Regions from separate parts of the Homo sapiens genome. Here regions 2, 3, 4, 5, 6 and 7 are each linked to region 1. Evidence: promoter capture Hi-C in 16 types of primary human blood cells and fetal thymus (Javierre and others, 2016). All regions are on one chromosome and are shown on one strand. The core of a region is centred on a gene start or on the middle of the fragment in contact, and the rest is flanking DNA. Distances in the headings are between cores, read along the strand shown. Region 1 holds the start of OPA1 (OPA1 mitochondrial dynamin like GTPase). Region 2 holds the start of ATP13A3 (ATPase 13A3). Region 3 overlaps ATP13A3 (ATPase 13A3). Region 4 overlaps MB21D2 (Mab-21 domain containing 2). Region 5 overlaps MB21D2 (Mab-21 domain containing 2). Region 6 overlaps MB21D2 (Mab-21 domain containing 2). Region 7 has its middle 17 kb from the start of CPN2.

Region 1 (3,893 bases), core at 557-3,056:
ATAAATCAGTTTGTTTTAAAACTCCGTCTTTGTAGTTCTTCTTATACATCTTAATTGCTCCAACAGAGAATGCTATCTTCTGCAGTCTTTTCTCTTTTTATTTAAAGAAAATCAGATATGTTTCCTCACTAAATATTGAGAAGTAGAAATGCAAGGGTTGTAAATAACTTACTTTAATACCAAGGGCTGTGAACTTACTCAAAGACTAAAATTCCATGAGATTAAAAATACCTATGCAATAATTCTAACTGACTAACACTGTTAACTATTGTTATCTCATCTAGTTCTGTATTTTGGACTCCAGTTAACCTATATAAAACAAATTGGGCCGGGCGCGGTGGCTCACGGTTGTAATCCCAGCACTTTGGGAAGTCGAGGAGGGTGGATCACATGAGGTCAGGAGTTCGAGACCAGCCTGGCCAAAATGGTGAAACCCCCTCTCTACTAAAAATACAAAAATTAGCTAGGCGTGCTGGCGCGTGCCTGTAATTCCAGCTACTCCGGAGGCGGAGACAGGAGAATTGCTTGAACCTGGGAGGCGGAGGTTGCAGTGAGCCGAGATAGCGCTACTGCACTCCAGCCTGGACGACAGAGCAAGACTCCGTCTCAAAACAAAACAAAAACAAACTAACGAATGCATTCCATTCCTTATAAACACGATAAATTATCTATACCACTTAAAAAGGTCTGGAAAAAATTCAAAACAACTGCTTAGAAGTTAATTCAGGAAAACCACGTTTTTCCAATTTTGCTTGATGCATCTTACTTCCTATCAAATGCCTGCAACAATGAGCTAAGCTTGAAGGTATCTAATGATACTAGAACAAAATTTCCTATAAAATCCAATTTAATCTCATTACAATGCATATAGTAACGCACAGAAATGAAAAGATTTCTATGATTTTCTATTTAGAATTAAACCACCCCAGGGCAACAATGATTGAGATTAGAAAGGTGGTGCCACGTTCACGACCTTGCATCAAAAAGTAAGTCTCCCTCCCGAAACACAGAAAAAAGCTGCTATTGAAAGGGCATCTCGAATCACCGTCTCTGACACCGTGTGCGTCATTGCTCTAGTTCTGACTTCTATCAGCGGGCTAGGGAAAGAGACGGACGCCCCTTTCCCCGATAGAAGAGCCCAGGTACCTGAAGATGCAATGTACACATGGCGTGGAAATGGAAGAAAAAGAAGACACCGAGAGTTAGGAGAAATGTGGAGAGAGGTGACTCATGGACAGAGCCAAACCTGGCAGGGAGAGGACAGAAAAAAGGCAAAAGAGGCAACCAGAGACAGACAGAACACTGAAGACACAAGGGTGTAAAGGGCAGAGACAAAAGGACAATAGAGACGGGCCAAGATTGAGAGGCGTCCAGAATTTTCGGGTTGGGTAGGGCCAGAGAAAAGGGCCAGTATTGAAGCCGGCTCCGAACGTAAGCCCAGCCAGGGCTCCTGTCATTCTGGGTCCTCAAGAACATCTGGGAATTCTCCAACTGCCGTCGGCCTGGCCTGAGAGTCACCTGCACATTTTTGGAGATAGAGATAAGACAGCCCCACTCTCAAGAGGCCCCAGAATTAACGGGGCCAGATTAGAGCCTGCACTTACCAGGCCACAGCGGCCCGACGTAGTCGCCACATCCCGCCGGCGGGGAGGTCACGCAGGCGCCGAGACGGCCACGCGGGAGCCCCCGTGTGAGCCCCAGCCCGGCTCCCGGTCCAGGAATGACCCAGGAAGTGGCCCTCAGCAGCAAGGGCACAGAGCCGCGGCCGAGGCCCTCCCAATGGCGCATGGACTTCCGCAAGAGCCTGACAGGCACCCGTACTCAGTCCGTCACGGAAACAACCACTTCACCCTTTCTAGGCGGGCAGCACGAACGGTCCGCGGAGGACCAGCGCATGCGCACAGTGCGTCGGGAACGGACTGGAGCAATCCATCGCCTCTCACGGGGCCCCGCCCTCTTGCTTCCGATTTGGAATTCGGAATTAGCCTTGCAGGTTAGAGATTTGGCCAGGGGAGGGAGCGAGAGTTGGGCGGGAACGGGAAGGGCTAAAGGCGTGGAATGAGAATTGATGAATGCTCACCGGGAGCCATGAATTTATTAAGAGTTGGATATTGAGGGAGCACGAAGGAAACTAGAGAGTGCAAGGTGAAATACAGTAATAGCGTACTACAAACTAATGCTTGCACATTTGCCTACCTTCTTTCTTGGGCATCTTTGTTTGAAAGCACTTTCACATCGTTAGGGCAATCATGGGAGGTGAGAAGCAGGACGAAGAGTCATGGATAGGCTAAGTCCCTTAGAATCTCTGAGGATCAGATGGGAAAGGGACTTAAATCAGTTAGGCCAGTAACGGGTTTGGAATAAGCTTGTGTGGTTTATAAAAGGCGTCAAAATGATTTGTTCAACTGTTTCTTCCGGATTTTAAGCCCACCAGTTTGTTGAAATGGTCCTCGTCAAGGCCTCCACCAGCTCCCTATTGTTTGTGGCCAGTGAGCCTGCCACAGCATTCAGTTCAGATGCCTAGTGCTGAGCACTCCTTCAACTACTTTTTCTTTTGGCTCTCTGGCCATCACATTCTCCTTTTTCCCTGGAACTGCTGCTCCCAGGCTTCTTTGATGGCTCCCCTCCCAAATTTCTCAATGTTGGACAGGCCCAGATCTCAGCCATCTTGAGCTCCTCTCCTCCATCACTTTAAATACTCCTTTCCCCTTCCAACACAAACCTTTTATGTTTTGTAAGGAAACCAGGGCCCGTAAAAGGGATGTGGCCTGTGAACGGTTATGAAGCCAATTTTTAGGGACTAAAATAAAAGGGTCCTGTGCATCCTCTTTACTTCAGGGACCTTTCACCTCCTCCCCACTACCCGCCCCCCACCCATGCCACACACATACACAAATACACAGAGCATAAAGACAATTCCTTTTCCCTTAATTGTCAGAATCATAAGTCTGGACCCATGCACTCACAATACCACCAAGAGTAGACCTAGCCATTGATAGTAAACTTCCCAAATGCAGGACTCTTAGAATTTTCTTTATTTATTGTGGTGACTGTTTCAATGGCAGGTCCAGAGAGCAATTTGCTGTACCAACCTGTGCAAACTGTAGATCTTCCTGGGATTGTAGGGTTGTACAAAAAGTGTCTTTGTAATCGTTACTTCCTTGTTATTTTAGAAAATAAAATAAGAGAAACCAAGAGACTTTAACAACAACAACAAAAAAGAAAAATTAGGGATAAAAGACTTTAACCATAAAAAAAGGAGAAACTAACCACCATCACCATTTATATATGGTTATCATATGTTTTATGAAGCCCTTGTTTTGCAGTTCTACTTCTAGGCATTTATCCTGTGGAATCATTCCCATGTATGCAAAGATGTATGCATGATGATGTTTATTTCTGCACTGTATGAAATGGGAAAAGATTGGAATCAGTATAAATGTCCATGTATAGGAACTAGACACATAAATTACATCCGTACTAGCCATGAAAACCTATGCTTTAGGTCTGTATGTCCTGATAAGGAATGATCTCCCATAGATACATAGTGTTGCCATGAAAAAAGGGCAAACTGTTGTATAATAAACTGCAACCATTGGACCAAATTCAGCCCACAGACCTGTTTTGTTTGGTTTAGACAGTGTTGGCCTATGCAGTGTTTTAAAAATAACACTACATTTGGGCTGGGCATGGCGGCTTATGCCTGTAATCCCAGCACTTTGGGAGGCCGAGGAAGGCAGATCACGAGGTCAGGAGTTTGAGACCAGCCTGGCCAATATGGTGAAACCCTGTCTCTACTAAAAATAAAAAAATTAGCCAGCTACTCGGAGGCTGAGGCAGAAAAATTGCTTGAACCCAGGAGGCAGAGGTTGCAGTGAGCTGAGATTGTGCCA
Region 2 (3,893 bases), core at 605-3,104, 890 kb before region 1:
GCCAGGGAAGACCATTGTTTGAGGTCCGCATGAAACACTTGGAAGCTAGTTGGAGGGAGCACTTCAGGAGGAGGTTGGCTTGATAATTTTGTTTTTAGGACTTGGAGAGGCCAACCTGTTTAAAGGCTGAGAGGAAGCAGCAAGGCAAGGAAGCCTGGGAGGTGGGGGAGGAAGATTTTAGGGCCAGACCCCACCCAGACCGTTTTCTTGTGGTTTGCCCAACACTACCACACACCCCTTAATCTCATTTAATCATTTCAACACCACGAGGTTTGAAACAAACGGTGAGGTATGAAACAAAACGGTGAGGCCAGGGATTGGGAAGAGAAAGCTGTGGTTCCATCTCGGTCCAGCGTGCTGTCCACGCCAAGAGGCGGGCAGAAATGCTAGCCTCACACAATCTAGGGGACCAGGGGTGGCTGTGGCGCCCTCCTGCCCGCAGGAGGTGTTATCAGTGTCGCGGACTCGGGCGGTGTGCTGCCCCTGGTGAGATGTCATCACGTGCGTGGACCAGGGGTGGCGGCCCTGGTAAGTGTCCAGGGACTAAGGGCTCCCTGCTCTCCAGGTGTGGTGGACGGGGTCCGCATGCATGCCGTCCTCTTCTCTAAGACGCTAAGGCGGCTGAGTTCTGTAAGTAGCGGCAAGAAGAACAGTCACGGAGCGGGCCGGGCACAAAGGGCGCAGGCCAGGTGGCCCCAGGCGGAAAGATGGCCGCAGCCAGAGGCTGCAGGTGGCCGGGCGCGCTCCCTGCGCGCGTCGCGGAGAGGACGCAGCGAAAATCAAACCCGCGATTTGGAAATCCGGCTGCGGCCCTACCCCGAGATAAGTCTTCTGCGGAGGGAAGTATTTAATTTGCATCCAGGACGGTCGGAAGAGGCGCCTTCCCGTCGGAGGCGAGGCGCGGGCGCGTGGGAGCTTTCTCGTGTGCGCTCCTCCCTGTCCTCCGCCTGCGGCCGGGGCGCAGAGTCCGTGGTCATATGAGAATGACAGTTTTTTGTCTGTTTGTTTTGGCGGGGGCGAGGGTGGCTAAAGGAATGAAAGAGCCTTGCATTAGGAGCTGGGCTCTGGTTTCCTCTCCACCATTCTAGCACAAGCTTCCTCCATGACCATGACTCTGGGCAACGTCTGTCTAGTCACTGAGCCTCAGTTTCCCTGTTCATAAAATGGGAGATTGGACTATGATGTTGTCATAGCCCAAAGGGGATGAAGTGGGATTTGCCGTTCCATTTCATCCCACCAGAAAAGCCGCCCTCCATTAGCCACCCCGGGCTGACACCCAGCGTTTTTGGACGGCCTCGCCTCCCCTTACCTGCCTCTTTCTTTCTTTTGCCCGTTCGAGGGTGGCAAAGGCGATGGGTGGGCGGGGCCTATAAATCGCCCCGCCCCTCCCCGCCCCTTCCCCGCCTCCTGACGTCGCCCGCGCCCCTCCGCCCTCCGCGCGGGGATGAAGCCACCACGTGACCTCACATCCGGCGCGGGAGTCCTGAGCCCGCGCGCGCTCCCCCGCCTGCCTGCCGGCTCTCCCCGCAGCGTGATCGGGCGCCGCCGCGGAGGGGAGGGGGGTTCTCTACGTCGCTGGCGGCGGGGGGGCCGTTTCGGAGTGCAGACCGCCCCCCTCCCCTGCCCACCTCCCGCCGCCCTCCCTTGTTCTCGCCCTGCCGGCTGCACGCCGCCGCCGCGGGCGCGGAGGAGGAGGAGAGCGCGGACGTCCCAGGGCCGGCCCGGCCCCGCCGCGGCGCCTCCTTCCCTCACCCTGAGCCGCAGCGCGCGGCGCCGGCCGAGGGCGATGGGGCTGGGCTGAGGCGAGGCGGCGGCGGCGACAGCGGCGGCCGGGTCCCCCGCGGTCCCTGGGGCTGGTCCGGCCGCGAGGGAGGCCGCGGAGGAGGCGGCGCGGCGGCGGCCAGTGAGCGGCCCCGGTGAGCGGGGCGAGGGGCGGGTGGGCAGCGGCGCCGGGGGAGGTCGAGGAGGCGAATGGTGGTGTCGGGGCGGCGGGTACCGGGCGAGGTCGCGGCCAGCCTTCTCGGGCCGGAGTTGGGCATCGCGGGGACGGGGAGTGTCGGGGGCAGGTGAGGCCAGGGCAGGAGCCCACGCGGTGGGTGCGAAGGCCTGGGGGGGACGCGCCGCCTGCCGGGGGCGAGCGTGGGGGCCGGGCGCTTGGTGGTTGGTAGTCAGAGCTTTCGGAAAGTCCTGTGGGAGGTGGAGGTCCTGTGGGCAGAGGCGTAGGGGTGCTGGCAGGGCCCTCGATGAGTCTGTGCGGGACCCTAGCTCGTCCTCAGCCGTGGAGTATGGAGCTGCTTGCCATCTCCGCATTTCACAGATAAAAGGAGTGAGTCCCGTGGAGGAAAAGTGACTTCTGACTTGCCTGAGGCCTCCCACTCGGACTCTGTGGCAGTGAGGACTAGAAAAACCCAGGGCCCTTTGCCCTAGCAGTGCTCTCGTGGCCACTCTCGCTATGGCCTTTCTGTCTCTCCATTCCCTTCACAGAGTCAGGTTCTGGTGGAAGTATGACCTCTGGCTTTTTTGGGGAGGTGAGGGGTAGGGATGAAGGGGGAGGGAATCGGGTTGGGATTGGCAGGAACTCAGCTGGGGGCTTCCCGGTGTGGAAGAAGCTTTGTGACAGGTGTTTATTGTTTCCTCTTCCCATAGATCTGACAGACATCCCTGAATCTTGGTGTTTGGACATAGGAGGTATGAATCACTCACATAATTAGCCGCTTTTAATCATCAGTGTCTTAGAGCTATATTTAGTGGTTATATTAGTGCAAAATGAATGGGTGTGGAGTCGTACACCTAGAAACAGACTTGTGTTCCTCTATACGATTCTAACTAAATGAGTAGAACATACCTGGGTATGTCATGGCTACTTTAGATCTATGAGGCAGGAAGTTAGAATTTAAGGAATCTAAGAAATGCAGGGACTTGAAAGATTATTGCAAAATAAAGCCTTTAAAAAGTATCGTTGTTAAAATGAAAGTGTTTCGATTTGATTCCTTTGAAGGGTGAGTACGTAATGAACAGTGCTCTATCTTTGGTTAGAGCTCAGCCTCTTTACCAAGGTACATGTATTAATTTTGTTTCACTGGAATATATGTGACATTATTTTCTCTAGAGGTTTGTTGCTTTGCTTAATAGACTACAGTTGCCAAAAATCAATGTGTGTGGGCATCTCATCCTGGTTTGCAACCCCTTTAAGGCAAATCAGTGCTTGGAAGTTGTTCGAAGTAGTAAACCTATTATTAATGATTGTTGTAGAACATAACTTTTGCTGGTATCTTTGATTTGCATTATCCTACCATTAGATCAGGCAGAGAGTGAAATAATTGAGATTTTGAGCCTTGTTAGAACAACAATGCCTGGCTTTGGTCAGGGGATTGGGTAGGAAAAGTGACACTATTTGGTTGCTTTAAATTTTTTTTTTTTTTTTTGAGATGGCATCTTGCTCTGTTGCCCAGGCTGGAGTGCAGTGGTGTGAACTCGGCTCACTGTAACTTCTGCCTCCTGGGTTTCAGCGATTCTCCTGTCGCAGCCTCCTAAGTAGCTGGGATTTCAGGTGTGTGCCACCACGCCCAGCTAATTTTTTGTATTTTTAGTAGAGACAGGGTTTCACCACGTTGGCCAGGCTGGTCGTGAACTACTGACTTCAGGTGATCTTCCTGCCTAGGCCTCCCAAAGTGCTGGTATTACAGGCGCTAGCCACCGAGCTTGGCGGTTGATACTTACATAGTTAGTTTAGGTCACCAAATATACAACACACAGAATCCGCTTTGGATAAACCACATTATCGAGCTCATTTTGAAATCCTATTTCTGTCTTCAAGATTTTCGAGATTATAAACCACTTTGTTGTCATTCACAAGTATAAAGTTCTTATTTCCAACATCACTGAGACTGAGA
Region 3 (3,893 bases), core at 704-3,203, 810 kb before region 1:
GTGGTAAAGAATCCATATCTGCAAGTTATTTAAAAGGTATTAGTACACAAGAGTATAGGTATATAAAACTAAATGAAGTCAATCATATTGATTATCCCCCCAAAAAAAATATAATCTAAAGAATAATCAGTTCCTAAATAATTGAAAGCTGCCCTTACAAAATAAAACAAAAGAACACACATTTCGTTGTGTTGCCCAGGCTGGTCTCGAACTCCTGGGCTCAAGCAGTCCTCCCACCTCGACCTCCCAAGATGCTGGGATTTCGGACATGAGCCACCACGCCCGGCCAAAGCTGCCTTTTTTTAACATGGATTTTTTTTTCCCCCATTCGTTGTGCTCAGAAGTCATTTCCTCTTATTTTTCTCTGCTAATGTGTGCTTTAACAAACCTGTTTAAAACGACAAGCCTTTAATCAACTGGGGTGTTTTGTTTTGTTTTTTTCTTATTTTCTTAGGAGTCAGTGGATCGGTGGGGAAAATGCTGCTTACCCTGGGCCCTGGGCTGTAGAAAGAAGACACCAAAGGCAAAGTACATGTATCTGGCGCAGGAGCTCTTGGTTGATCCAGAATGGCCACCAAAACCTCAGACAACCACAGAAGCTAAAGCTTTAGTTAAGGAGAATGGATCATGTCAAATCATCACCATAACATAGCAGTGAATCAGTCTCAGTGGTATTGCTGATAGCAGTATTCAGGAATATGTGATTTTAGGAGTTTCTGATCCTGTGTGTCAGAATGGCACTAGTTCAGTTTATGTCCCTTCTGATATAGTAGCTTATTTGACAGCTTTGCTCTTCCTTAAAATAAAAACAGAAAAATATATCGTCCTAACAGTTAAATTAACAATCAATCCATAAAGTCCTATATCTTCATTCAGCAACCCAAATATTACATACATTTCCAGAATTTTCTTGATTGTTACTTTCAGTGATATTCTTTATATTGGGTACAGGAGAAGTTTGGTGTTTGGTAGGTTTTTCAACATTAGTTTTTGAGACTAGTTTACCTCTTCACATTTATGCTCACAACCCTCTTGTTAGAAAAGTCTGTGTTTATATACAGGCTGTAAGTTTGTGATTGATAAAAAGAAGATGAGTGTTAATTAGCCTCCAGTGAAAATATACTGAAAGCCTGTTTTCATTTGATTCCAATGTTTCTTCCAAAGAATTCTGTATAAACATATGCCAATTCCCTATGATGGTCTAGAGTTAGGAATGAGTGTTTATGGTGTTGCTTATAGAACAACTCAGGTAATCTCCATTTCTGGTTTTATATTTTCTGTACAAACTGCCTGGGTTTTATTTTTCTAATCAGCAAGGTGCTTCACTGCCTTCTTGAGACGCCTCTCAAAGCTCTTAAATGGCTCCTGTGCTATGTGTGGTGTTGGCAGTCTAATTTGCTTCTGTTAAATGTTGTAGAACCTTTTTCACTAGGAAATAAGATTCATTTCTTTCGGCAGTAGATGTAGATTCATCTTTTAACGTTTCTTCAAATTTGTTTCTGTCAGGCTTTGTGTTATTTTAAATGGTTTTTTAAAATTTTCTTCTATGTTTTCAATTACCTAAAGACATAGGATAATAGTTTTTTTTAAGTTAGAATTTTACCTCATAAAATTTTTTGAGGTTTGATGTATGTCTCTGTCTTATCAATAATGAGGCTTAAAAAATACTGGATTTGAATGGCTGCCGTTTTTTCAAAGCAATATGAATTTGATGAGTTTGTTTTATGCCATTAGGTGGCGCCAGAGGTCAGAACATGTCTATTTTGAATTGGATCGTTACAAATGAGCATATTTGATGCGGAAATTTCTGGGAGAAAAAAAATTGAGGAAATAAAGTTAAAAAATTGACATTCATTGAGCCAAAAGAGATGTGGAGAAACATTTTTCACCTTTCTGTTTGGCCTGATTAACATTTAAATTCTTGCCAAAATTAAGGTAACTTTTAAAAAACACCTTTTATAGGTGGATCCAGCAGTCTGGCAACGCCCACAGTTACCACAACACAGAAAACTGATCGTGCTATAAAATGGACGCTAAACTATGAAAACAGTGTGACATTGTTCTCTGTTCTTCCAGAGCCAGTAACATGCTTGCTCGTGCTTTCTACTTCTAGCTGATCATTCTTTTCCCAACATATATTTACAAATTTACCAAATTTTACCTAGAATTTTAGGACCAAATGGTTCTCACTCTTTATGCTGCAAAGACCTGGATGATGTTTGGTAACTATAGAAAAATAGAAATTACACTCAGGATCACTGTTACTGCTATTGCCACTGATGATTCCTGCAAAAATATAATCGAAGTTTTCCATCAAATGTATAATATGCTATTAATACACATTAGATGATAACAGTTGTTCCATGAATGATTCTATGAAGCTATGCATCTTAGACCTCTTGAGCTGTGAATTAGCACTATTTTCTATAGTTACTTATTCTCTGGATCATTTTATAATTTCCATATTAATTTCAAATATGCTCGTGTTATTCTTCAGTGATTTCCACAATTGTGCATTTTATTCTTTGGTTTAAGTACTGAAGCATATAATGAAAGTAATTGCTAAGTAGCAGCTTAAAAATTCAATTATCCGATTGTATTTAACATCTTTAAGAGCATGATCATAAAGAGCTATTTTTGACACCCCCCCCCCACTTTTTTAACATTTAGAGTTAGTAAGGGTTTTATATCTCTTCTGTCCATATTGTTTTCAAAGGAATGAGGTGTTTAGGTGGCTGGAAAAGCATTTGTAGGAAGTTAGATTTGAATATAGACAAGGTGGGTTATTCACGTTGAGAATGTTATTTGAAGAATGCCTGTGAAGCCAGGTGTGGGTTCTACTCAGTGCCATAGATAGACTGAGTCTTCTCTCGTAGGTTACCATTACATAGTAATTTTGATTCTGAATTTCACATTAAATTATTTGAGTTTATACAGACCTAAATTTTAAAATCTGTACATATATTATTTTGATGTATTAAGATGAATATTGCTGATTTAAATTTTATTTATGCACATACTTAAAGGACAGAAATGTCTGGGAAAGTAATTGTTAAATAATGATATGTAACTTTTTAACTTTTTAAATAAATAACAAGATTTTTAATGTGTGTCTCCCTCAGGGTTGTTTAAAGTTTTTTTTCTCCCTCAAGTATAAATAGTGGTAACTATATGTTTTGTATCTTCTAGCACCAACTGCTGTAAAGCAATGCTGCAAATAATGCTTGAATACAAGTGGCTAAGCCAACAACAGAATAAATACTTTTATAGTAGTTTTATAATCCTGAAATTCGAAAGCTTTCCCAATTGCACTTGCATCTAAACAAAACTGTTGCAGTTTTTACTCTATTTATTTTGTTCCCCATGTTTATGAAAGTCCTGCACAGTTTCAAAGGCATGGTAAATAATATATCAATGTTTATGTAGTCTGTTACAGAAACAGCTATAGATAACATTATCCAGTGAAGAGCAAAATTCAAGCTTTAGAAAATATTCATGCATGCAATTTTGACATATCTAAAAATAGGTTTTTGTATATTTATGGTGGGAGGTGGTTGGGAACTTTTAACAAAATGGGGTGTTAATTTTTGTACAGTCTGTGGGCATTTACACATTTTTAATGTATTAAAATTTGGTAATTATGTGTACATTAAATTAATAAAAGTTACTTCTAGTTATGATTTGTGAATTCCCTAAGACCTTGGATTTTTTTAAGTAACTTTATATCAGAAATGATACTGCATCTTTATATTTTTAAAATTGTATTGCTGCTCAAGAATGGTACCCTCTTGTCAAAAAGGCATACATTCATAATTGTACATTCAGCATTGTAAATAATCTTATGAAACCTTTTTTGATTGAAGCTATTCAAAATAAAAATTTTAATGAATGAA
Region 4 (3,893 bases), core at 488-2,987, 790 kb after region 1:
AAAAAGTCAAACAGTGTGTTAGTATTATTATAAAGAGAGTTATGAACTCATTACCCCTGAAAGTGTCTCCAGCCCACACTGAGAACCGCTGGTACAAAGAAGAGTGTAAGCGCAAAGAGCCTGGGGAAAGAAAACCGCTTAGGCAATAGATAAAAAAGGCCGAACTTCATATGATGGCAGGAGAGATGGAGAACAGGGAAGGAAGTGAGAAACCCTGGCAGAGGTTCCATGGAAAAGATTTGGCAGTAGAAGGGCAGCAAAGAGTTGAAATGTACTGAGGTTTTCAGTCTGCATAACTGAGTGGATGGCAATTCCATTAACTGAGATGATGACTGGGGGAAGAGGGGCCCTGTTTTATTATTGAAAACGATACTGCTTTTCACACTGAGAGAGAAAAATCTATCATAATTCTTGCATTTGGAAAAGGGTGGATTCTAGCACTAGTGAGAAAGTACTGTTGGCCAGGTCTCTGCAGCAGCCTGAGATTTGATTTAGTACTGATAATGAGTTTTGGTTCTTGGAACATCAGAGCATTCTGTTTCATGCATAAGACTCTTATGTCTGTGTTTCCTGTAATAGTGTTGTTTTTTTCTTCTTTATTTCCAGGAATGGTGCAAAAGCTGGACCAAAAGCTTCCAGTGGCTAATGAATACCTGTTGCTCTCTGGAGGTGTCCGGGAAGGCGTGGTGGACCTGGACTTAGATGAGCTTAATGTCTATGCCCGGGGTACTGACTATGATATGGACTTTACCCTCTTGGTGCCAGCCCTCAAGCTGCATGACCGTAATCAGCCTGTGACACTCGACATGCGCCACTCAGCCTTGTGCCACTCTTGGCTGAGCCTTCGGCTCTTTGATGAGGGGACAATCAGTAAATGGAAAGACTGCTGCACCATTGTAGATCACATCAATGGTGCCACCAACTACTTCTTCTCACCTACCAAAGTGGCTGACTGGTTCTATGACTCTATCAGCATTGTCCTATCAGAAATACAGAAGAAACCCCAGCGAGGGATGCCAAAGGTAGAAAAGGTGGAAAAAAATGGGACCATCATCTCCATCATTCTGGGTGTAGGGAGTAGTCGCATGTTGTATGATATTGTCCCTGTGGTATCTTTCAAAGGTTGGCCTGCAGTGGCCCAGAGCTGGCTCATGGAGAACCACTTTTGGGATGGGAAGATTACTGAGGAAGAGGTCATCAGTGGGTTTTACTTGGTGCCTGCTTGCTCCTACAAGGGTAAGAAGGACAATGAATGGCGGCTGTCCTTTGCCAGGAGCGAGGTGCAGTTGAAGAAGTGCATCTCCAGCAGCCTCATGCAGGCCTATCAGGCCTGCAAAGCCATCATCATTAAACTGCTGTCCCGGCCCAAGGCTATTAGCCCCTATCACCTGCGGAGCATGATGCTCTGGGCCTGCGACAGACTTCCTGCCAACTACTTGGCTCAAGAAGACTATGCAGCCCACTTTTTGCTGGGCCTCATCGATGACCTGCAACACTGTCTGGTCAACAAGATGTGCCCCAATTATTTCATCCCTCAGTGCAACATGCTGGAACATCTGTCTGAGGAGACAGTCATGCTTCACGCCCGGAAGCTGTCCTCTGTGCGCTCAGACCCGGCAGAGCACTTGCGCACCGCCATTGAGCATGTCAAGGCAGCCAACCGGCTGACACTGGAGCTCCAGAGGCGAGGTAGCACCACCAGCATCCCCTCTCCACAGTCTGACGGAGGGGACCCCAACCAGCCTGATGACCGTTTGGCAAAAAAACTGCAGCAGCTAGTGACTGAGAACCCGGGAAAGTCAATCTCTGTCTTTATCAATCCTGACGATGTCACAAGGCCCCATTTCAGAATTGATGACAAATTTTTCTGAGTGTTAGCTGACTTTTTTTTTTCCTGATTCTTAAACTCTGATAATGTGTCGTGTGGTTTGTGATGCTATCTTTCTGTTTTTTACATATCCAGCCTAGATTGGATTTGTTAAGAACAAATTTTAAGTTTCCTGGTTCTGCAGGATGGTGCAGGCTCTGAAACAGTATATTACTATTTCATATTCTGCCTCTGATTTCGTTGTTTACTTTTTGTAGTTATTGTCATGCTCTTTAGTTTGTTGGAGTTTTTTTTCTTTTTAAGGAGATCTTAAGCCATAGATGAAAATGCCCATGAATCCTCTTGCTTTTTTCTGTTTCATACTTGGTGCAAATTTGTTCATGGGTATGGGGAAACAAATCTCTTTCTGATGCTTAACGATTCTATCCTATTATTTTTATTATTTTGTTTTTGTCTTTTTTCTTATGAGCTTTCACCACTACTGATATTTGAGAATCATATGAACCTGGGAACTACTTGGCATGTTAGCTGGATTTATTTATTTTGGCCAGTGACCAGAGTAGTTTCCCCCCTTTTCCACCAAACAATGTAAACTTTGAAAGTGATAATACTACAAATTGTGTTTTGGAGCAACTTCATTGAATGTAATTGTCCTCAAATCAGAGAACACTGGGTGGTTTGAAGGGTGTCTTTGACAGTTTTCCAAGCAGAATTAAGGTTTCCAAATGTTAATTTTAGCATATGTAATTATTTGAAGCCTTATTTAAATCCTATTAAAGAACATACCATTATAATTATTATTTGCACTAATCTTTGCCATTGTCAGAATTGCAAAGTGTGTTTCAATATAAATTAACAACCACTCTCGAAATTCTATCATTTTTTCATTTTGCCCATTTCTATCAGTGAAATGATTCTTTGCATTTGCTTAGTTCTCCTTCAGTTGTGGGGTCCTGCTTTGCCCTCTTTGATATTCCTGGTTCCTGTCTTACTGAGAGAAGTTGTTAAAGCTTTATACATGTTGACCCCATCTAAAGCTGGGGAAAATATACACTTGATGAAGTAGGTGTCTTTGTATTTATTTCTTTTGGGGTCATAGAGGTAAGCTTTTTTGTAAAATCTCTACTCTTCCTGAGAGTTTTGAGAAAAACTGGCAGGAAGAACTTATAATCCCCAAATAGAAGATACCACGTCTGTTCAAAAGCAGGTATTGCTATAGAGCAGCACCCAGGAAATATCTGTGGGTGGCAGCCTTGGTATAGAGGTGTCCTGTCTTCATGAGTGAAGTTACTTGCCTGATTAGGTGCTGGAAGGTATTGGCTCCCTGTTTTGGTGTGGACTCATGGCAAGCTGGTGTTTAAGAGGTCAGGAGGCCTGCTGATCTTTCAAAGGACACCCATGATGTCTACTCATAGAAAGGGCAAGTAACGTGTTCATTTTGGTCTTGAATGTCCAAACTCAAGGGTTGGATTTTGGCCAATTGAAATCAGACATATGCGATCTTGGGTTTTTGCATGGAAATTAATGTAATGCTTATAAATGAAAAATGAAAACATTTCAACCATCTAAGTCAAACACAAAAATAATAAAAAAAGAAACATACTGGCCTTGAAATTTTGTTGTTGTTTGTAATCTGGGAATTATTTTCTTATTAGTATTATATTAGTATATTTATATATTAGTATATTTTCTTATTAGTATTATACTAACAGCAATTTTCAATAAATACAGCCATGGGCTTGCTAGTGTCTTTCGGACCAGTTGTCCATATAGTGAACAACCAACATTCAGTCTTCCTCTTTCCCCAGTTTTACTACTAATGTCTATCCGCCACATCATCCTTGTCCTTCTCAGGAAATGATTTCATCCCTAGTGCTGAAAACGCGTCATAATTGGAAAAGCTGATCTGCACAAACCATCTCCCTGGCCACAACATTAACAAGCGACACAGAATGTAAGCCGCTCCAGTCAGGGACACGCTCAGCGTTCCAAACTGGAATGCTGGGACAGAAACATACACTCTCCCTGGATATGGAGGAGAAAGCATTTGGATTCTTTTGCTACT
Region 5 (3,893 bases), core at 922-3,421, 770 kb after region 1:
ACATTTACTCAATGTTTTTAAAGCAAATTGGATTCATTTTTGTATGACATGAATTAAAATTAAACCTAAACAATTTCTTTGCAGGTGATTTTGATTTTATTTTAAATGTGTTTGGTTAACACCACCTGTAAATAAACTAGAACATAGGATCTTTGGTGTGAAAATAATTTAGATGTGTATTTAAAAGGTAGATTTAACTTTAAATGAATATTATACTGGCTTATAAATGTATCAGATATGGCGTATTTTATTATATTTTATCATATCCGTTTAGTAGAAACTATGGAGATTGAATGTCAACTGAATGTTGCCATTAGGGTGATGGCCAGACTGTCCTGTAAGGATATAGGTTTACACGTTTTCAGGTGATCTCATCACCTCTGCGTGGTAATACTTGACTGATACCAGGGTGTCGGAGTGCTCGTTTAAGAATCAGGAGACCTTGCCCTAATTATCTTAGTTCTAACACTGACTAGCTGCGTGGCCTCTAACTACCAGCAGTACCTCTTTGACATTCAGTGTTCTCATCCATACAAGGAAGCAGTTACATTAGATGTTCTAAGGGTCTGTGCAGTTACAAAGTGAATGAATGTGATCAGTGGAATATTTCTGTTTTGCACGCAGAAAAGCAAAAGCCGTAAAGGATACAGTGACCTGACCATGGCCACGGGGAAAAATCACTGGCTCATCGGGAATAGGTCAGACTCTTTCTAAGTTTTGGCCTTCATGCTTCCTCGTGGTCCCCAGTAGCACTTCCCCGTGGTGGACCTTATTCTTTACAATGCCAGTGATTTGCATTTGCTCTTACATCTATTAGAACTTCTATGTGGATATCCAAAAGGGGTGGGAGGAATAAAGTTACTTGGTGAGTTCCTATACTATTAATGAAGTCTCTGCCTCCATGCCTGTTGAGACTGGTATCTGAGGTGAACTCCTGTCACCTTTTCTGTTGAATCTTATTTTGGGGAGAAACCAGTAATTGAAGTGAAACAGTGTAAGTGACTCTCCAATGTATCACAAGCTCTCTTCAACTCAATTTAGAAACATCTCTTATTAGGAATGAAAACTTTAAGCAGATGCCCCATTCCAACCTCCCACCCCCACCCCGCCTTTTTTCTGTTGGACTGTTATGCTTGTTTGTGGCACATTTAATTAGCTTCTCAGGGACTTGCTGTGAATAATAGCTCCCTCACATTTAGAAATGCGATAGGTATACACTTGTTTGTTTAGAATCAGATCACGTATTTCCATGTAAAGATATTTCAAATAATGCCTGGGTTCACAGGTGCCATTTTAACTCAGTTTGCAACCGGAATGCAGTACTCATCCTATTATCTTGGGTTTGGGGAGTAGGAGGCTGTATAGGAGGGGAGGGAAAGGAAGAGGAAGAGAAAAAAATTGAGCACAGTTTTGAAATTGACAAAGGGTTTCCTGGGTGCTGCCTCTTGCTGCCTCCCTGTCTCCTACTTCTGTCCTCAGGACCTTCCAGGACCCTGACGGCCCATCATGGCACTTTGTAGACCTCCAAATCACTCAGTCAACTCTGAATCCAACTCCCACTGTGGCAGGGCTGGTGTTCTTTGCTGCGTTAAGAATGTTGTTCTCCAATTCCAGACATTTAAACCAAAGAGTAAATGTTAATTAGCGCCTTAACTTCCAGAAAGCAATTTCCAGTTTCCCTTTTAATCGTGACAATGAACCTAATTGGTAGAATTAGGCAAGAAGAGAGGGAAGGGGCAGAAAATTCTGGACTGAGAACTTGCCTCTAGGTTTGGTGCTCCCTGCTTGTGCCTGGATCTCCCAGCTTCCTTCATTTCTGGATCCCATAGTGTTTGAAAGCTGCAGGTGCTCTGCGGTCTCCCAGGGCAATAGCGAAGTTGTGAGATGAGGTTGAGGAATGAGGTGGGAGCAGGTGTGGATAGTTCACACTACTGACCTGGATGAAATGTTTGTGAGTCAACCCTACCTTTGGAGTCAGAGAGCTTGGTTCAGCTATCAGATCCACTGACTATGTAACTTTGAGCATTTATTTAACCTCAAGGTCTTCATCATAAGAGGGCATTATAAAGATTAATAACAATTCACAAGAAACCTTTTGGCCCAAAGTAGGTGCCCAGTAAATGAGTGATGTTATTAAGAGCCCAGGTGGTGGTGGATAGTGACATTAGCAATATCAGGAAGGCAGCAGCATTAGTCAAATAAACGATGTGTTCATTGTTATTTGAAGGGTACGTAATGTTCTGTTTGTTTGTTTAAAATGGATTTGTGAGGGATGGGTGTGAAGGATGGCTTGAGGCCAGGAGTTCGGGACTAGCCTCAGCAACATAGCGAGACCTCATCTCTACAAAAAATATATATAAAAAAAAGCTGGGTGTGGTGGCACCGCCTGTAGTCCTGATTACTCAAAAGGCTGAGGTGAGAGGATTGCTTGAGCCCAAGAGTTTGAGGCTGGAGTGAGCCGTGATCACACCGTTGCATTTCAGCCTGGGTGACAGAGCGAGCCCCTGTGTCAGAAAATAAGATTTGGGGGGATGGAAAACAGGGTGGAGCGCGAGTTAGGTAGTCAGAAGTTGTACCTCCAGATGCTGGCTGAACGAGGCAGCGGAGCATCTGTGAGGAGGTTGGGCCTTTGCAGAGAGAGCCCGGGGCGGGACGCCGGAGGAATATTTGACACAGTCTGAGTGGCCGCTACGCAGACGCTTTCATCAGCAGTCATTCCTCGTCTGTCTATAGGCGAGAATCAATAACAGAAGAAAAAGGTGACAAATCATTCATTGCCCAGAGACTGGCTGTAAATCCAGTGCCTGTTATTTTCTTTCTAATCATTTTAACAAAACTTCTGTACGAGTCCTTTCCCTGCAACACAGAACCTCATCCCTGGACTTTGAAAGGCCTTTGGAAAGATCTGAAATTACATTTTGTATTATCCGAAGTTGTTATCTCGGGGGAGTTAAAGGTCTACTTTGCTCTTTGTGCTTAAGTTAGATCAGCGTTCATAATGTCATAGTTTTCTTTTTTACAATCTGTTTCATGATACTCATAAATTTTAGAGAAATCTGTCTGAAGGTTCTGCATACACCTCTGTGTGTTTCTGGGGGGTGTGTACTTTTATACATCTTAGCTCTGACTTGCTGTTATACAAACTCACTCTTAATATCGCATCTCCCTCCCCTTTCTCTCCCCACAGAAACACAAACACACTTATTTATGTATAGAGTCCTGAAAGTCAGAAAGGACATTAAAAACCATGTATTCCACCCAACTTACTTGGTAGCCAAGGAAACAGAAACCTAGGGAGAGGAGCTGATTCCCCTACCCCCTTGTAGGGAGCACCAGGACTAGGCCCTGGGTGTCCTGCTTCAGGTTCAGAGCTTGGGATGCAGAGCTTGTCCCCAGAGCAGGAGCTGCAGGGCCTGCTCTCCAAGCTGCCTGCACTTTCACAGATGGATGTCAGGTGCCTCCCAAGCTGGAGTACCTGGAAATGGGTAAAAATAGTTGAACAAGTGAGTACAGTTGGCGAAAAGTAAAGTCTTTTTAGACAGCTTTGGAATGATTAGAGAGGGGACTTGGGGACCACTCCAGCAGTGGTCTGCATAGAAGATCTTTTGTAAGCACTGATTTATTTTTCTGCTGAGGGGCCAGCCTCAGGCAGAATTGGGAAATAGGCAGCTTGATATGATGCAGTGATTTTCTAACCCTTTCTCCATCTCCCTTTTAAAACTATAGGACTCTTCCCTCAAATAGAAGCATAAGAGGAAGCCCAATAAGTAAAACCGATCCAAGTGGTCGAAGCGGGGGTGGGAGGCCCAGGTTCTGCTCACTTGACTGTCACATTCTTTCCTTGCACTTCATCTTCCACCTTCACCCTCCACTAATTACAGGGCTTCTCCGGA
Region 6 (3,893 bases), core at 639-3,138, 750 kb after region 1:
TCCCAAGTAGAGATATGTTTATATTTCTGTGAATTTATCATGTCCAACTTTCATGAGCAAATGTCCCTACCTCTATTGCTTTTTAATCTAAAAGGACGCTTGCTGAGCATCTCTGTGGTCCCAGCACAGTATGATGTTAGCAGGACTGGCCTCTACGCTGTGATGACAGTCTCCTTGTCTGATCATAGCAAGCAGAGAAGCATAGCTTACTCAAGCTGGGTTCTTAGCACTTGTTCCTCATAAGAAAGCTGATGAGCATTCCACTCTGACATGTCAAAGACAGAAAGGAGCTTTCTTTCAGCACTTGTCTTTTGTAGTTCCACTGACAGGACTAACTTAGTGACAGAGGATCCTTTAGCAAGCTCCCAATGTGGGTGATTGAGCCTCTCCCTGTCCAGGGTTGAATCATGTTATTCCCTTAGTAAATCTGGATGCTAGCCCTCATGTAATCTTCAGGCTCTGTGACCTGAGCTAGTAGCTTTAACTTTCTCAGCCTCAATTTTCCTAACTACAAAATGAGTGTAGGCTAAAAGACCTCCCATGCATTCTAAGCTAGCTGGGCACTAACCTTGTGTATCTGGGAAGGAAAGGCCACATGTGCTCTTTTCACCCCAAGGGCATGATAACTTCTTTACCTCCAGTCTCTTAAGACTTCTGTTAGTCAAAGACACAGTCTGCCAAAGGCTAGGGTCCTTTTGTCAGTTTTCCTGCCATAATTTCCACAAGAATGGCCCTAACTGCACTTAACATGCACAGTGGATGTGACAACCTTGGAGTAATTGGACCGTGTCCACTTCCCAAAGAACCAAAAAATCCCTGGATCTGAATGTTCCTTGAATCTCCATTGATGATTTTTCTTTTGTTACATAGGATGACTTGATGAGATTGATAATACTAATATTGTTCTTCAGGCCTTTCCTCCTCAGACCTGTCAGTGTTATAAAGGATTATTTTTTGAATTTTCTCTGTATTACTTCCATGTGTTCTCTTTTATTATCATTATTATTAGTTGGCTTCATTTTATTAAAGATAGTGTAATTTGGAGTCAGTTCTTGTGGCCGAGTTGATTTAAGAGGAAACGAAGCTTACATAGTTACTATAATTTTGTGTCTATAACGTCTACAATATTTATGGCATTAATTTTGTGGTGCAATGCATTGTATACCAGAACAGCATGTTATATGCATGAATGGTGGTGCTTTGACTGAAAAATGTGTCCTGTGGTAGCTTTGTCCTCAGGCACAGAACTAAATATGCACACATATTCAATGACCAAGTGAGTGGTTAGAAACCTCTGGCTCTGACGGGCAGCCGTGGGAGGCCAGTGTTCAACGTGGTAGACCATGTTCCTGCCGTACTTCCCATTCATCTCTTCAATCCATTCCTACTTCAGCTGTGCCCCAGTTCAGCTCTTTATTTCCCCCACAGGGTCGTTACAGAAGGCTCCTGGTTGACCTCTCTGCCTCTGGTTTTACAACAGCTATTTCATCTTTTATATGCCCCCCGAGTGGCGCCCTCCTAGCTACTTCCCAGTCATCTCCTTGCTCAAGCACCCTGCTTGTGCTCCATTGCCTGTATAAAGCGTAGACACTCTGGCCTGCCATCCCTGGCTCTTGACCCACTGCCCACGGAGCTTTTCTGAAACCCTCTCACCCCTCTGCCTGGTTCACTTCTACTCATGTCTACAGCATATTACACTCTACCACTTCTTACAAACTCATCCTTCCTTCAAAACATGTTCCTTTGACAAAGAACCCCTAACCTTTAGGGATTTCTTGCTCTTCCAAACCCTAGCAACTCCTAGCGAAGCCTAATGTATTATTAGTTACCTATTGCTGTGTAACAGATTACTCCACACTGTAAAACAACAAATACATATTATCTCCCATAGTTTCCGAGGGTCAGGAATCTGGGAGTGGCTTAGCAGGTGGCTCTGGCTCAGAGTTGCTCATAAGGTTGTGTTCAAGCTATCGGCCAGAGCCGCAGCCTTTGGAACACTTGACTGGGCTGGAGTATCCACTTCCAAGCTCGCCTGTGAGGCTCTTGGCAGGAGATCTCACTTCTTCTTCACTTTGTCCTCCCCATAGCGCTACTCAACATCATGTCAGATGGCTTTTCTAAAGTGAGTGATGAGAGAAAGACAGACAGACAAAAGACTAAGATTGAAGCTGCAATGCCTTTTATAACCCAATCTTGGATGTAAAAACCATCACGCTTATTTGTTACACTGACTGCTACCTTTGATACAAGGTGAGAGGTGACTACTTAAGGGTGTGAATACCCGAAGGTGGGGTTGTTAGGGGCCACCTGGCAGGCTGGCTGCTACACCTGCCTTATATTGTTTTAGCATGCATGTGTTCTGTTTTGCCAGCTAGCCTGGCACTGTTTAAGTTTGCAGGCTGGTCTCATTGACTGTGTGGTTCCCTTACTTCATCCAAAGTGCTTTTCATGTAGATAATTATTTTGTTTTCAAAATAATGTGTTGCCCTCTCCTCCTTTTTTAAGAGATAGAGGTAACTGGTGCCTGGAAGGATTGGTTATCTAAGTCAGTCAACTACTATGTGACAGAACATGTGAATTCACTCCTAGGTCTTTAAATCTAAAACCCATGTTCTGTCCACTATACAAATGGTATGCTGATTTTGCTTTCTATAAAATATTTTCCACAACCTGCCTCTTGTCTATAAGCTTTGGTGTTAATTAAAAGGAACAACTTGGAAGCTCCCAATGATTGCAGGGAAGTATTTGTGTGTAACAATCTTCAGGCGGGAAAAGTTTCCAAGAAGTTGTCTTAACCAACTAAAACCTCATCTTCCTGGTCTTCATCTGTTCAGCAGTTGCCTATCCAAAGCCTCTGATTTATCTGACTGTTCTACTGATCAAGGGAGCTTAAGAGGCCCATATGAATACCATGTTTTAGCAGTTTTTTTCTCATTAAGTCATCTGGGGAGATTCAGCTGGTCACCTCCCACCACGAGAAACTTTCTACCATAGCGCCTCACTCATCTGTTTCTAACAAGTGATGCTCTTGCGAACAGTCTCTGAGTTTTCTAGGCTTAGAGGGATTGCGCTGGAAACTAAATTGGGAACTCTCCCAATAACGCTCTCTGGATACCACGACTTAGCTTCAGAGGGAGGTTCTAGGAAAAGCAAAAAAAAAAAAAAAAAAAAAAAAAGAAAAAAGAGAAAAAAGTCTTTGTCATACTCCCAAGCACAAAGTTACGGTGGTTGAATTCAATAAAGGAGCTTTGATTTTCTTTTTCATTTTGAACAAAATACTGGTCCTTTTGGTTGACTTTGAAAATGTGTAATATGTATGTTTCTAATTTCAGTTATTTGCCCTTTTCTGCAGAAAGGGGAACACTGCAGGTGGCTTTCTGAAACTTGAACGCCTCGAATTTTTGTGTTCCCTCTCATGATCATCTTTTATATCTGCAGGGGACATTAGACTTATAATGATCTTTAGATTTTTGGCTTATTGGCTAAAGATATCTCTTTTTGAAACATTTTTATTGAAGTATGTCTTCTACCCACCAATGGTTGGAGGAATTTTAAATATTGTTTTCCAATCTCTTTTCTTATCTCTGCATAGGGATGCTTTTTATTTTTTACCTGCAGTGGCTGTGGGGTGGTTTCATGTTACATGCTTCTCCACAGTGAGTTTCCCTAAAACGGAATTTTTTGAATCTCTTTAAAAAGTCTGAACATACTGGGAAAAGATGAGAAAGGGATTTGAAAAAGAATTGAGAATGAACTTTCTCAAATACTTTTATGCTCCTAGGTGGTTAGAAGGTTGTTTTCTGTATAGATTGACATATAGATTGACATTTTCTTTAGCGGCTATACTCTGAATCAAATTCCTTCCTCTGGAGCTCTGGGAAAGCTCCCATTCT
Region 7 (3,893 bases), core at 917-3,416, 740 kb before region 1:
GTGTGCTGAGCAGGCAAAGCCACCCTCCCCTCTGGGGCCTTTGTGTCACAAAGTCGAGCGTCTGGGGTTTCCCTTCCCGAGGCTTCGTTTTATCTCAGTTTCTCCTGGGCGCAGCGCGGGTACTGGGACACCTGGACTCTCTGTTGTTGTAGGGGTTTGTTCTTGCAAGCCATTCCCAAGCTGCTTCCTGAGCTGTAAACATCTTAGGACCATGGGTCATGATTGGCAAGGAATATGCCTTGCTAGCTTTGGGATGGAGTTGATTTTCAGACGATCTTACTCTGTCTCTTCTAGGCTCCTGCCTCCCTAACACTGGGGTTACCCAGATATCATTTTGTTTAAATCTCCCCCAGCGATTCTAACGCATGGCCAGGGTTGAACATTTAGGCAGAATTTTGTCTCGGGCACTGTCCAGGGCTAGGTTCAGTGTAATTTGCACTGGGCAATGCTGGCCTCCTCAGACCCACCTGGTGTCTGCTCTGGATGAATTCATGAATGAAACAAGTGACAAACATCATGTATAAAAATATTTCATGGATTTTTTTTCTTTCTTGTTGATGTTTTCATTGTATTTTATTATTATTATTTTTTGAGATAGAGTCTCACTCTGTCTCCCAGGCTGGAGTGCAGTGGCACGATCTTGGCTCACTGCAACCTCTACCTCCCTGGTTCAAGCAGTTCCCCTGCCTCAGCCTCCCGAGTAGCTGTGATTACAGACACGCCACCACGCCCGGCTAATTTTTTTTTTGTATTTTTAGTAGAGATGGGTTCTTGCTATGTTGGCCAGGCTGGTCACGAACTCCTGGCCTCAGGCAATCTGCCCGCCTCGGCCTCCCAAAGTGCTGGGATTATAGGCATGAGCCACCGCGCCCGGCCGATGTTTTTAATTTTTCAGCATTAGTGCTCTCATAAATCTTGCATTTTTGAAGAAACAGCAGCTGGGGGTGCGCTCTGCCTTGCTTTTTTTTTTTTTTTTTTTTTTTTTTTTAGATGGAGTCTCCCTCTGTTGCCAGGCTGGAGTGCAGTGGTGCAATCTTGGCTCACTGCAACCTCTGCCTCCTGGGTTCAAGCGACTCTCCTGCCTCAGCCTCCCAAGTAGCTGGGGCTACAGGCACGTGCCACCATGCCCAGCTAATTTTTGTATTTTTAGTAGAGACAGGGTTTCAACATGTTGGCCAGGATGGTCTTGATCTCTTGATTACGTGATCCGTCCGCCTTGGCCTCCCAAAGTGCTGGGATTACAGGCGTGAGCCACCGCCACCGGCCTGCCTCGCTTTCTTATAGTAAAGGATGGCTAAGACATTCCAAAGCTCCTCCTTCCAGCAGGCAGGACGCTCTTCCAGGAAGCTTTGAATGTTGTACCTTCTTTAGTGATGTCCTGCTACTTGCCAGTCATGCAGCCCTCGGCAAATTACTAAGCTGTCTGTGGCTCAGTGTCCTCACCATAGTTTTATCACATAGCACCCACCTCATAGTGTTATTGGTGAAGATAAAATAAGTGCATCCATATAAAGTACCCACAACAATGACACATGGTACGTTCTCCAAAATCGTTATCTTGCATTATTATTTTTGTTAGTATTATTCTAGAGAGAACTGTGGGTGTGGGTGCGGACGGGGTAGGCAAGCACCGGCCAATTGTTTTACCTGTTCCCGTTGATCTGTTTCTGGAAGAACGTAAAAACTGCTGTTTATATATCAAAATTGCATTGTTTAGGAGGATTGGAAATGCAATTGACACAATTGTTCAGTGCTAACAGTGGATATTGGAAAACTGGACGGTGCCGTCAAAGATTAGACTGTCTAGCGCGATGCGAGTCCAAGGACGAATGCTTTCTGGCCCTCTCAGCCTGCTTCCACCACGCGCGCATCTGCAAGCATTTTAAGTCTGCGCCTGCAGAGGTCCCGAGCCTGGTCTCGGAGCGCCCCCTTGTGGTCGCACGGAAGAACGCGCCCCGCGCAGACGTGGAGGGCCAGGGAGGGGTTCTCCCAGCTCCGCCCGCGGGCGCGGCGCGGTACTTTATTCTTGGAAAGTCAGAACCGGGTCCCCTAGAAGGGATACGGGCACATTGACACGGTGACCCGGGGGATACTTGCCGGAGTGCATGCGGGCGTGCGTGCGGAGCCGTCACGGCTTCTGTCTCCTGCACGCCTGAAAAAGCGCCAGGTCCGCTTGGGGCCCATGCACCGAGGAGCCGCCGGGCGGAGGCGAGTCCACCCGCCACCCGGTGGGGCGGCGAAGCGTTCGGGGCGCTCCAGATTGTCCCCGCGCTGCCGCGGTCCTGCACAGTGACTCGTCCCGCGCCCTCCACGGCTTCCAAGCGTCCCCTGCGACCTCCAGATGCCGATGTGGTACGAACCCCGTCCTCGAGGATCTCAGCTGGGAGCCTCCTGCTGCGCGCTGCTGCCACGTGGACGCGCGGTTCAGGACCGCACCTGGCAACGTGCATCCTGGGAAGACTGTGCTTTGTTTTCTTTGGGATTTTATCAAGAGTTGTTCAGCACTTTGGGAATCTTTATCCCGAGGCAATGCTTAGCCCTGATTGCAAAATGTCAAACACGGACACAAATTCATCCTTTACTCATCGTGAGTGAGTGACAGTGACTTCCAGTCTGTTAGTGAGATCTTGGCCAAACATTCCACATGGAAACGAATTCTTTTATTATAAGTTACCTTTGACTTCTAATTAATATTACAGATAGAAGGTTTTATTTTTAAATTCTCTGCGAGGTTTGACGATATTATCTGTGAAGTTTTTTTTCAGGAGACTAAAGCGGGTGTTACAAATGATTTACCAGGAAATCATTAGGTCTGTGGGGGTGCGGTTCAGAGGTCAAAGTAACAGAAGGAGCAAAACCACATGGTCTTCATCAAAGGAGGCCTGCTGGTGTGTCCTGGCCCTGTTTTCCTCCCGGGGTGGAGGCTATGGGTCTGAGGCTCCCCTTCCCACCATGGCGTGAGAGATCCTTTCGCAGAGAAGCTTTGTAAAGGGGAGCAGAGATTCCAGCTGCATTTGGAGGGAAAGGACAGATTCGTGTATTAGTCTGTTCTCCAGCCAAAAAGAACCAACAAGAGATGATAGATAGATAGGAATTGGCTCATGCAATTGCAGAGGCTGAGAGATCTCAGGTTCTGCAAGCTGGAGACCCAGGGAAGGCGGTGGTGTAATTCCATCCAAGTCCCAAGACCTAAGAACCAGGGGATCTGATGATATAAATCCCGGTGCAAAGGCAGGAGATGAGATGTCCCCGCTCCAGCAGTGAGGCAGGAAGACGCGGGGCAGTTACTCCTTCCTCTGCCTTTTTGTTCACTCAGGCCCTCAGTGGATTGGGTGGTGCCTGCCCTGGCTGGGGAGCGGATCTGCTGTGCTGAGTCCACCTTTCCAAATGTCAATGTCATCGGGAAACGCCCTCAGAGACACACCTGGGAACGGTGTGTGTCATCAGGGTACCCTGTGGCTCACTCAGGTTGACACCTAAAATTGAACATCACAGTTAGGAAGCCTGATTTGTGGCACCCGCTCTGCCTCACTTGCGACCTGTGTCTGTGAACAAGCCACGCCCCCTCTCTCCAGGCCTCAAAATCTTCACTGAGTAACTAGGGGCTGAAAGCCTGGGTGGACGTGTGGATGCCCCACCTCCTGCTCCAGCCGTCTGAGGTGTGCCGCCTCTCCAGCAGGCACCCACCCCCTCACTTGGCCTGGAGGATGGTGGGCACCTCCCCAGGGTGGGGCCCAGCCAGAGCCCAAACTCTCAGCACTCTGGGGGCAGCGGAACCCCTTGGCCGCCACTCAGCGCAGACTGCAGCTGTCCAGCCTGGCCCCTCAAGAACCTTCTCTGCATTCTCCTTGCCCACTGGTTTGCTCAGTGATGATAAACTGACTCCCTGTCTG

Evidence for each region. Contacts are between HindIII fragments. The CHiCAGO score rates a contact against its expected background, and 5 or more counts as called.
Region 2: a fragment that was not itself captured here is called in contact with the fragment with the promoter of OPA1 in region 1 in 4 of 17 cell types (fetal thymus, naive CD8 T cells, total CD4 T cells and 1 more); the score reaches 8.2 in fetal thymus.
Region 3: a contact is called between a fragment that was not itself captured here and the fragment with the promoter of OPA1 in region 1, in 3 of 17 cell types (naive CD8 T cells, naive CD4 T cells and total CD4 T cells). The highest score is 5.9, in naive CD8 T cells.
Region 4: a contact is called between a fragment that was not itself captured here and the fragment with the promoter of OPA1 in region 1, in 3 of 17 cell types (endothelial precursors, M0 macrophages and M2 macrophages). The highest score is 10.6, in endothelial precursors.
Region 5: a contact is called between a fragment that was not itself captured here and the fragment with the promoter of OPA1 in region 1, in 6 of 17 cell types (M0 macrophages, M2 macrophages, M1 macrophages and 3 more). The highest score is 27.0, in M0 macrophages.
Region 6: a fragment that was not itself captured here is called in contact with the fragment with the promoter of OPA1 in region 1 in 4 of 17 cell types (M0 macrophages, M1 macrophages, M2 macrophages and 1 more); the score reaches 25.2 in M0 macrophages.
Region 7: a fragment that was not itself captured here is called in contact with the fragment with the promoter of OPA1 in region 1 in 7 of 17 cell types (fetal thymus, total B cells, non-activated CD4 T cells and 4 more); the score reaches 7.9 in fetal thymus.

Annotation. Positions count from the first base shown.
Region 1 is chr3:193,591,121-193,595,013 of GRCh38, reverse strand. OPA1 (OPA1 mitochondrial dynamin like GTPase) reads right to left here and starts at 1,806. Exons shown (of 31, transcript NM_130837.3): 1 at 1,605-1,806. The coding sequence starts at 1,636. It also overlaps a transcript of ATP13A4 not described here. RefSeq lists enhancers at 1,248-1,327, 841-1,492, 1,928-1,977, 2,028-2,097, 1,493-2,144 and a silencer at 1,558-1,707. The HindIII fragment of the contact is 1,567 bases long and covers 801-2,367 here.
Region 2 is chr3:194,484,589-194,488,481 of GRCh38, reverse strand. It overlaps ATP13A3 (ATPase 13A3), which reads left to right and starts at 1,480. Exons shown (of 34, transcript NM_001367549.1): 1 at 1,480-1,916; 2 at 2,647-2,688. ATP13A3-DT (ATP13A3 divergent transcript) reads right to left here and starts at 1,342. Exons shown (of 2, transcript NR_033929.1): 1 at 1,310-1,342; 2 at 1-1,026. RefSeq lists an enhancer at 461-680 and silencers at 1,351-2,010, 2,041-2,090, 2,181-2,240. The HindIII fragment of the contact is 1,515 bases long and covers 1,097-2,611 here.
Region 3 is chr3:194,402,678-194,406,570 of GRCh38, reverse strand. It overlaps ATP13A3 (ATPase 13A3), which reads left to right. Exons shown (of 34, transcript NM_001367549.1): 34 at 455-3,893. The coding sequence ends at 652. Among named protein-coding and RNA genes, the nearest start is that of GP5, 5.4 kb to the right of the region's middle. The HindIII fragment of the contact is 2,692 bases long and covers 608-3,299 here.
Region 4 is chr3:192,796,364-192,800,256 of GRCh38, reverse strand. MB21D2 (Mab-21 domain containing 2) reads left to right here. Exons shown (of 2, transcript NM_178496.4): 2 at 607-3,442. The coding sequence ends at 1,871. Among named protein-coding and RNA genes, the nearest start is that of FGF12, 71 kb to the right of the region's middle. The HindIII fragment of the contact is 2,206 bases long and covers 635-2,840 here.
Region 5 is chr3:192,819,401-192,823,293 of GRCh38, reverse strand. All of the region lies in intron 1 of MB21D2 (Mab-21 domain containing 2), which reads left to right. Among named protein-coding and RNA genes, the nearest start is that of FGF12, 94 kb to the right of the region's middle. The HindIII fragment of the contact is 6,078 bases long and covers 1-3,893 here.
Region 6 is chr3:192,839,699-192,843,591 of GRCh38, reverse strand. The region is part of intron 1 of MB21D2 (Mab-21 domain containing 2); the gene reads left to right. Among named protein-coding and RNA genes, the nearest start is that of MB21D2, 76 kb to the left of the region's middle. RefSeq lists an enhancer at 3,012-3,061. The HindIII fragment of the contact is 1,604 bases long and covers 1,087-2,690 here.
Region 7 is chr3:194,331,971-194,335,863 of GRCh38, reverse strand. No RefSeq gene overlaps it. Among named protein-coding and RNA genes, the nearest start is that of CPN2, 17 kb to the left of the region's middle. The HindIII fragment of the contact is 1,634 bases long and covers 1,350-2,983 here.